Linked DNA regions of Homo sapiens: all the other regions are linked to region 1. The links are contacts of gene promoters, found by promoter capture Hi-C in blood cells and fetal thymus (Javierre and others, 2016). All regions are on one chromosome and are shown on one strand. The core of a region is centred on a gene start or on the middle of the fragment in contact, and the rest is flanking DNA. Distances in the headings are between cores, read along the strand shown.

Evidence for each region. Contacts are between HindIII fragments. The CHiCAGO score rates a contact against its expected background, and 5 or more counts as called.
Region 2: a contact is called between a fragment that was not itself captured here and the fragment with the promoter of GATA6-AS1 in region 1, in 1 of 17 cell types (endothelial precursors). The highest score is 5.9, in endothelial precursors.
Region 3: a contact is called between a fragment that was not itself captured here and the fragment with the promoter of GATA6-AS1 in region 1, in 4 of 17 cell types (endothelial precursors, M1 macrophages, total CD8 T cells and 1 more). The highest score is 7.8, in endothelial precursors.

What each region holds. Positions count from the first base shown.
Region 1 is chr18:22,167,025-22,170,217 of GRCh38, reverse strand. GATA6-AS1 (GATA6 antisense RNA 1 (head to head)) reads left to right here and starts at 1,250. Exons shown (of 2, transcript NR_102763.1): 1 at 1,250-1,551; 2 at 1,835-3,193. GATA6 (GATA binding protein 6) reads right to left here and starts at 629. Exons shown (of 7, transcript NM_005257.6): 1 at 536-629. RefSeq lists an enhancer at 2,481-2,984. The HindIII fragment of the contact is 8,900 bases long and covers 1-3,193 here.
Region 2 is chr18:22,458,821-22,462,013 of GRCh38, reverse strand. It overlaps LOC124904260 (a long non-coding RNA gene), which reads left to right. Exons shown (of 3, transcript XR_007066305.1): 3 at 3,071-3,193. Among named protein-coding and RNA genes, the nearest start is that of CTAGE1, 43 kb to the right of the region's middle. The HindIII fragment of the contact is 1,436 bases long and covers 756-2,191 here.
Region 3 is chr18:22,439,403-22,442,595 of GRCh38, reverse strand. No RefSeq gene overlaps it. Among named protein-coding and RNA genes, the nearest start is that of CTAGE1, 23 kb to the right of the region's middle. The HindIII fragment of the contact is 1,870 bases long and covers 678-2,547 here.

The DNA.
Region 1 (3,193 bases), core at 1-2,500:
GAGAAAAGGAGGGGGAACGCAACGGGCTGGGGAGGGGGGAGCGTGAGACCGCCCCAGAGCCGAGGCGACCCCAAATGGGAGAGCAGGAAGAATGACAGGGAGACTCGGAGCGAGTGGGGGAGGGAGGTGAAATGCAGCCGGGCTGGCCTCCTCCAGGCTGCTCTTCCAAATCGCCTCGGCTCATCGGAGATTACCACACTAAAATTAATGCCCACACACAGACCTGGCTAGATAGCAAGAAAGAAGTTTCTCTGCCTGCCTAACTACCGGCTCCCGCCCCTTTGCGCCGAGATAACTCGGAGATAAGGCTGCGCGCAGATAAGCGCTTCGAGGAGAGAAAAAGAGACTAGAAGTTGGTCCGCGGTGTCCCGGGAGCCTGGGAGCCGCCTCAGCCCGCCCGGAGGGAAGGAGGGAAACACCGTCGGAGCCGACCGCGGCCTGGAGAGGGCCGGAGAGCCGGAGGCCAGGGGCCCGCGACGAGTAGGGGTGGAGGGGAGGAAAGCGGGGAGATCGCGCGAGGAGGAAGCAGCCGAACCTCGGGCGGGCGCTGCGCATGGAGAACGGCCGCGGCGGAGGGTGCTCCCAGGCGCGGAGAGAAGCCGAGGGCGCCAGCGGGCGAGCGCGAGTCCGGGGTCTGCGCCGCGCTGCTGGTGAATAAAAAGGAGAGAGGAGGCGCCTCTTACTGCTCTGCCGGAAAACTGCAGCCTGGGCTCCTGATTGGACTCACCGAGCCCTAAACAAACAGCGCTCGCCGAAGGGTGCCAGGCTGTGGGTCGGAACTGCGCTCAGCGAGCAGCTGGGCGCTGGAGGTGAAGAGGAGGAGGAGGGATCGAGGGGAGGAGAGAAAAGAGGGTGGGGAGGGGACGGCGAGGGGGGAGGGGAGCGCGCCGCCCAGGCAGACAATGAGAGCCGCGCTGCCTGCGGGCGTGGGCTGAGCCGCAAGCCCTGTCCCCGGAGTGGGGGCGAGTCCACCCGGGGGGCACCGAGCCCAGGGACCCCGGGGGAGGGGCGGAGGCCACAGAACGCCTGACCTGGCTAGCGACCCGCACCCATCCAGCGGCGGTGCACCCTCCCGCTCCCGCAGTCGCACACACACACCCACACGAGGGAGGGGGAGGGAGCCTTGGCACGGGAGGAGTTGGCAGTGCACAGTCCCGCGCCGCCGCCGCGGCGGGAGGGGCGCTCCAGACCTTGGGTCAGCACGCCCCCAGAAGGAAGGGGGAACGTGCTCTGCGCCCCCCCGCCCCCCAACCCCCGCCTAGCCCCTTCACAGCAAATGCGCTTTTTGCCCTGAAGTTGTGTGAGACCGACCTTAAACTTTCTCCGACCCTATCTCGGGATGCTACGGCTCAGGTCGTGGTGGTTTCGGGAACCTCAAGACAACATTCCCCAGCTGACCTTTGGGAACTTTAACTCGGGTCGTCATGTACGGAAAGGTAGTCTATGGGGTACGCAGAATGGAAAAGGGCTTCCACATCAGTCGTGTCCGAGGACGCTCTCCAACTTTTGATGTCCCTGGAGAGTTTCTGATATTTCCCTGGAGAGTTTCAGGTAAGTCACAGATAAGTCACTGCGAAGAGGGGGTGTCACCTTCCCTGGACCCAGCGCTAAATGCTGCTTCCCCACCCCCACGTTCATATACACACCCCCTCTTCGCTCCCTCCAAACAGTTATCACAACTCTGTACAAACTGATACGGTCCCTAGCGGGCAAAAGGGACTGGAAATGAACGTCGCGGGGTTATCAGCGCCGATCTGTCAGCGGCAACTCGCGCGGCCGCAGGCTCGTCCGCTGCAGGAGCCGTGATATATGTCTCGCTCCCTTTCGCTTACAGAAAGGATTTCTTCCGACAGACGTGACCCCAGAAGGCTGCCGAGGGAGACTTTAGGACAAGAGGCGTTGTTTTTGTGAGAATGAATTTTTATACTTTACCCCGACCCCACCCCCTACCCCCCGCCCAGGTAAATCCAAGTAAATGATTTTCTGAAGGTCGGTCTCCTAGAAAGCGTTTAGGCTCTGGTTTTTTGTTTTGTTTCTATTTTCGTGTTTTCCCAGTTAGGGAAGGAAGAGGAGCCTGTGCAGAGTTGAACTGGGGTGGAGAGGTGCCTTGTAAAGTATGGTTTCCAGAGATGGTGAGACCTCGTAGCTAAGCGTTGTTTCCTCTGCACGTAACTGTGAGTTGTGAACTTGTGGCTCCTGGGGGAGCGGGACAGGGCCTGGCAGTGCGGGGGAGGGGGCAAGGAATTCAGGAAGTTGGCGAGAATTCTTCGTTTTTCATTCTTCGTTGTAAATTGCTTCTAAACACTTCTGAATTTTAAATTGCTACCGAGAAGGTCCAGAAACCGTTCTCATCCAATTTAGTCACTTTTATTACGTTCCACTTTGCCTCCCCCAATCACTGCGGCGGCTCCCAGTTTCAGCGTGGCCGCATTTGGAAAAGGCTGAAGGTAGAAAACTCTGGAATGGAGAGGCTGGCGACTGGAGCAGGATCCAGGGGCTTTAAATTTTAACCTGAATGCGATCGAATGCGCGACTCCCAGAAGAGATAGCCAGGCGTCCGCCCGGCCGCTCAACCCCCGCCAGGACTCGGAATGCCTTGCTTTTGGTTCTTTTCGTGAGTTCCGACCAAATGTTTAAGTGGACTGGGTTTTGCAGAAGCTCATTTGTAAGCACTGACGGAAATGGGTTGTGGGCATTTGATTTCCTTTGATTCCAACGTTTTGAAATAATGTTTCTCGGATTTGCTATTCGAAGCAATTTTCTAAAAACTCATATCTTATTTGCTAAAAATAAACTCTTTGGCTCAGTTTGTGTCCAGGCTGTGTACGGCCTCCAACCCTGAGCCCCGAGGAGATCGAGCCCTGGCGCGAGCCTGATCTCTGTCCTGTGTGTTTCTTTGTATTTGCAAGTACAAGGATGTCTGCGTGGATATCCCTGGACACTCGATACCCCCCGGGGACCTGCTTTTCCCGCAGCTCCGCAGACGCGGCGGGAGGGCGCGCTGGCCCCGGCGCTGCTGGGACAGAGGTGAGCAGCGGGGTGGACATTGACCGATTCGACAACGTTCGGGCTCTAAGGGCTCGGGAAGGGACCCGGCATTTTACCCTCCAGATTCCCAATCTATTTTTAAAAATAATGTTCAAAACATATGGGAAAAATAAGTGATTGCTCCTTTTCATGGTCACAGATTGTA
Region 2 (3,193 bases), core at 224-2,723, 290 kb before region 1:
TCTGAGGTTTTTTTCTTTCTAAATTTTGGGTTCATTGGAATCTCAGTATATACATATTTTTTCAGAGGTCTATATATTTTAGTGTCCTTTATTGACTTAAGCTGCCTTTTCTCTACTGATTTAAGCTACCAACTTCTGTTATATACTAGTTTACCATATATATTTCTATCTACTTACCCGTATACCAATACCATGAGGTGTTAATTGATACCACTTTACAATGCATTTGACACCTGGTAGGGTAGTCTTATTCATTAATCATCACACTCCACTGCACCCCAACTCTAGCTAGCTGCTTTTTAGATTTTCTCTTTGTTTATGTATTCTGCAATTTCTTTGTGATGTGCCTTGATGCAAATTTCTTTTCACTTATCTTTAATAGTTATTATTGTTCTTTCAATAACCTACCACCTCACTTTTTTCTCATCTTCTGAAATAACAATTACACTTTTGAAAGAGAAGAAAGACCATCTTGGAAAAAAGAGACCTTCTCTCTCTGTCCTCTACGTCTCTTTACCACTCTCCTATATTTTTCATTTCTTTGCCTCTTTGCACTATAATTCTGTATAATTTATTCACATTATCTTCAGTTCTCTAATTCTGTCTTCCACAGTGTCTAATCTGCCACCATACCCATTCACTGACTTTTCAATTTCTGTTACTCTATTTTTAATTTTAGAAGTGCTAGTTGATCTTTTTCTAACCCACAATGTCAATTTTTATTGTTGACTATTTCTTGCAGATATTTTAAAGCTTACCTTACATTTATTTAAATAAAATTAACATAGCTCTTTGTACTCTGTGTCTGGTCATTCAAACAGCTGCAGTTGTCTAACTCGCCTCTGCTGTCTATTTTGCTGACATTAACTATTGGTGCTTTGTTTTCTGAGTTTAGTAATCTTCAACTGTACTGCTTACTGCCCTTGAGAAACCATTTATACAAAATCCTCGAGGCCTAGGATGAAAGTATCTGCCTCCAGAGATGATTAGAGCTTGCTTCTGCCAGGTGCTTGGGGGTACTGTAGTTGTGTATCACTTTAAATTCATAGCTCAAAGTTTCTTGGCTCATCCCAAAGACATGTATTTGAGCAGCATATGGGCAAATACTGCCAGCCAATGATTCAGTGATGACGTCCTATCAGGGACGGGTTTTCTTTTTCTTTTCTCTGCTTTGCTTAGTGTCAAGGTAACTCTCCCATGGTCCCCTGGGGTAGTGGGAAGGGGAGCAGGTTCACCTTTGGTTTGTCCTTACCCTGAAGGTGAACCCCTTCAGACTCACAGCTTAATGTGAGGCAAGAGTCTCCTATGAGACCCTCCTTCCTACCTTGGGTGAGTCTTGGCCTTTGACTTCCGTATTCTTCATTCTGAGAGTCCATGAAAACCACAGCCAACTCAACTTAACCTGATCAACCACGGGCAAAATCCAATCAGGGCAAAACCTAATCACTTGGGAAGTCCTGATTATCTTGTCAGCTTTTCAGTGCTTTTAAAATCAAGTTTGTTTAATATGTTATCCAAATATTCATTGTTTTAACTGCAAGAATTAATCTAAATAACTAAGTCCATTATTACCAGACATGGAATGTCTGTTGATTTTTCTTATAAGTTTTAGTAACAGCTTATCTAGCTTTTTAAAATCCTATATTTTTATTGGCTTCAAATTCCATTTATAGATATCATTGGGAGAGTTAAATTTTTTGCTTTAAGTCTTCCTACTTAAGAATATGTCATGCCTTTCCATTTCTTTCATTTTTTTCTCCTCAATAACGTTTTAAAGTTACATTTTATATGACTTACACTTTGTGTTAAATTTTTACTCTTACACTTTTCAAAATTATTTTTATCTCTTTTTTTTTGCCCACATCTCACATTCCTTTTTACCAAAATGTTAGCTTTAAAAAATATATACCTAGGTGTTTTCTTTCTTTCAGTTAAATTAATATAAATATTAAACCTTTAAGTTTTTTCCAGAATTCTGCTTTAGCTCTGTCCCATAGGTTCTGATATGTACTAGCTTAATTATTTTCATTTATAAAAATATAACCCTTAATTATTTTTATTTTTAAAAATATATCCCTAATGGAAGAGTTGCACATGAAAGAATATTTTAGCATTTCCAGGTGGTAGAATTTTTCTCCTTCCTTATTTTATTATTAGTTTTTAAATGAATTGCTTTGTGATCAGAGAAGCTTTTCTGGACTCAGTCTAATTTCTGAAGTTTAGTAACATGTTCTTTGTGGACTTGGATATGGTCAGTTTCCAGCAGAATCTGAGTCTCCGTTCTGCTGCTTCCACTGTGGTCTTGGTTTCTAGGTTGTCATTTTTGCTAAGTTCTGCCAACTTATGTTTCACTTCCCATTGTCTTGCTAAATATTTCCTAAACTACTGTATATGTTTTTTTGAGCTCCTGTTTTTTAAAGGCGATTGTTTCACTAAGTTTTTTCTTTTCTTTTTAAATTCATGAAAGTATGTTGGGTCATAAATGTCATCTGTTTTGTGGCAATATTTTTCTAGTGAAGCTTTTTTTTTTTTTTTTTTTTTTTGAGACAGAGTCTTGCTCTGTCAGCCAGGCTGCAGTGCAGTGCTCAATCTCGGCTCACCATAAGATCCGTCTCCTGGGTTCACACCATTCTCCCGAGAAGCTGGGACTACAGGCGCCTGCCACCATGCCTGGCTAATTTTTTGTATTTTTAGTAGAGATGGGGTTTCACGGTGTTAGCCGGGATGGTCTCGATCTCCTGACTTCGTGATCCGCCCGCCTTGGCCTCCCAAAGTGCTGGGATTACAGGCGTGAGCTACCGCCCCCGGCTGTAAAGCTTTTTTAAACCTAATTTATTTGCTTTTCTTGTTTCATTCATTCTCTTTTCATCTATAGATACTGTGTGTGTTCCTTTTTGAATACTACCCATCTCTAAGTCAGGTCCGGGCTTTCTGAATTAGCTATCTGCAAGACATTTGGATGGGGAAGTGGGTGGTGGCCAGAGTTATATTCTAAGCTAGCAGGAATTCTCCTTAAATATAATGTTGTATGGATGAGGGACAACTTTGAGATCTGCTTCTCCTCCTGCAGGGACTGGCCGCCTTAAGCAGGGCTGCACAGGAGGAAATCTGTCTCCTCCCCGCTCTGCTGAAACACTAAATGAAGAACTTTTTAATTGTTACTGAGTATCTGAGTCATTGAATTCCTCAGTTT
Region 3 (3,193 bases), core at 363-2,862, 270 kb before region 1:
GTTAATTTTCGTGAAGTTTATAAGGTCTGTGTCTGGATTCTTTTTTAAAATTTTTAAATTTTTAAAAATTTTCCCCTCCTCTCCTCTATTCTTTTTTCTCTAAAGAGGATTTCCAGTTGTTCCAGCACCATTTGTTAGAAAAACTATCTTTTCTGCATTGTATTGCCTTTGCTTCTTTGTCAAAGATCAGTTGAATATGTTTGTGTGGGTCTATTTCTGGGCTCTTTATTCTGTTCCATTGATTTATTTGTCTCTTCTTTCACCAGCACCACACTGTGCTGATTACTGTAACTTTACAGTAAGTTTTCATGTTTGGTAGTGTTAGTTCTCCAATTTTGTTCTCCTTCAGTATTGTGTTGTCTATTCTGGGTCTTTTTCCTCTCCATATAAACTTTAGAATTAGTTTTTTGATAGCCACAAAAAATACTTGCTGGGAGTTTGACTGGGATTGTATTAAATCTGTAGATCTAGTTGGGAAGAATCAACATCTTGATAATAGTGAGTCTTCCTATCCATGAATATGGGATATCTCTCCACTTAGTTCTTTGATTTCTTTCATCAAAGTTTTTTCTCATATAGGTAATAAATATGTTTGCTAAATTTGTACCTAAGCATTTCTTATATTTTCCTCTGTAAATTTTTGTAGTTTTTCTCATATGGACACATTTCTTTAAGCTTATTCATAGGTGCATTATATATTTTGGCTGCCACACATTCACTTTTCAAATATCCAATAACTTACTTGGTAGCAGGCCCCCTATTGGTAGCAGGTATTGGTGATTCTATGGGAAACAAAAATAGATTTGGTAACTGCCCTTATAACATTTACAGTCAAGTAGAGGATGCACATACTAACAAATATCACATAATGTAAAACATAACTGTGATATAAGCTGTAAAGGAGAAGTAAATAGTAATATAAGATTATATAATAAGGAAATTTGACCTGGGAAGGTCAACACAGATTTCTCTGAGGAAAGGACAATTGACCTTTGAAGGATCAGGCTTCAAAGAAGAAAGAAAACTATATTCCAGGCAGAGGGAAGAGTTACGTGCAAAGGTGAGGTGGGAAAGCAGTACAAGTTTCTGGGGGAAAAAATGAGAGCACATAGAATGAGAAGGAGTGTGCTACTGGTTGAACTTGGTAAGGATAGCTTAACCTTCTAGGGTCTGGGTGTGGGTCTTTAATCTAGGAGTGATACGGAGCCACTGGGGGATTTTAGGCAGAGATCACTTGATAAGATTTGCTTTTCAAAAAATTTCACATTGCTGGTGGATGAAAACTCATCAGAGGTGGCATGAGTAGATGTGGCAAGACACAAATGAGGCTGTGGCCTTGTATGTGCATAAATATGTACATGTATATGTGTTGAATTTCTCAAATCAATTAGAATGCCACCTTATTCTTTCCCACAACAGGCCCTTCAAATCTGTTCTTTTGACTTGTTTTTTTCCATTGCTAGCTTAATCACAAGCATGTCTATAGTTATCTGGTCATTTTTTACATAATAGAAGTTCAGCCCTATAAAATAAATGCATAGCTTAAATTTGTGGTCTAATCAAAAACATGTTGATATAATTTGGGTGTTTATTTGTCCCTGCCCAAATCTGATGTTGAAATGTAATCCCCAGTGTTGGAGGTAGGGCCTGGTGAGAAGTGTTTGGATCATGGGGGTGGATTCCTCATGAATAGCTTGGGCCATCCCCTGGATGATGATTGAGCTCTTGTTCTGAGTTCGCATGAGATCTGGTCATTGAAGTGTGTGCCCCACCCCCACTCACTCTCTTGCTCGTGCTCTGCTTTCTGAGGCACTGACTTTCCCTTTGGCTTCCATGAGTAAAAGCTCCCTGAGGCCTCCCCAGAAGCTGAGCAAGTTCTGTCACAAAGCTCCCTGTACAGCTGACAGAACCATGAGCCTATTAAACCTCTTTTCTGTATAAATTACCGCAGCCTCGGGTATTTCTTTATGGCAATGCAAGAATGGCCTAATACACATGTCTCCTTCCCCAGTGGTTTGGAAACCTGCAGTGGAAATAGGCACTTTGGCCAACTTCTTTTCCCATGTCTGGCTCCACCAACTCACCTATTTGCAAGCTATTGTTTTAACCATCTCCAAGGTTGGGCACAGGCTAGGAGTTAGGGGAAAGTAGGAATAGAGAGGACAGCTAAAGGACAGAAAAGTCTTACCTGGCTGGTGCAGTTGTAACCTAGAATAGATGCCCTCTGCATATAGCAGACTCCTTATGAAGATGCACTCTTTTTTGGGGTGTTCCTATGAGGTCCTTAGGGTCCTCTCCTCTGTAATTCTCCTTGACTATTGCTAGGATCTCTCACATACAGCTACCTTCACATAGGCAGTGCTCCTCTTACTGGCTGCTAATGACTAGCACCATGAATTCCAGGAGTTTGTCTCTCTGTTAGGAGTCACATATGACCAACATAGTTCCTCTCAAAATGATATAATCCAGCTTCATTCTTTGGACCCAATATTTGGCCCATAGGAAATTTACACGTTCTTTCCCCTTCCCAACTGAGGAAGTCAAGCTTTTCTAATCAACTTCTTCCCTTGGCTTTGTTATCTTGGAGCTCCTGGCCAGTCATAGCCTCTTACCTTTACTCTTTTCAGGGATCAATCAGATACCAGGCCTGTCTCTCTCTAACCAGGGGACCCATGTCAAGCTTTTCAAATAGTACTCTTAAAACCCTACTTCAAAGACTCTCTCTTTTTCTTCCATGGGTGAAATACATGGCCCATTAGCCATTCTTTAAAAAGAAAAGAAAAGAAAAAAAAAACCTCAACACAGACCTCTTTAATTACAATGAATTCTTTGTCTTCTCTTTTATATCCTAGAGGGGAGTGATGGGCCAATTCTGGCAGAGGGTTTCACAATTTCTTAGCCTGTCCTGCATGGACAGTCTAGTGCCACCCAAGAGGTGCAGGATGGGGAGATATTAAACAACTCTTGTATTTGTTCTCAGATTTGGGGGACATAGCTGAAACTCTGAGTCAACAGGAAAGTCCCATCTTAACATAGTATTATACATATGTCATGAGCTCCTACTGGTAGCTCTTCAGTACATTATAATTTAAGTTATGTACCTTGGCAAAATAAATTTGGAAAACACTCTATTGTTTTGCTTTTAAATATGATGTAAGCTACTGGGTTGAGATAATTTTTTAATCATTTTGAG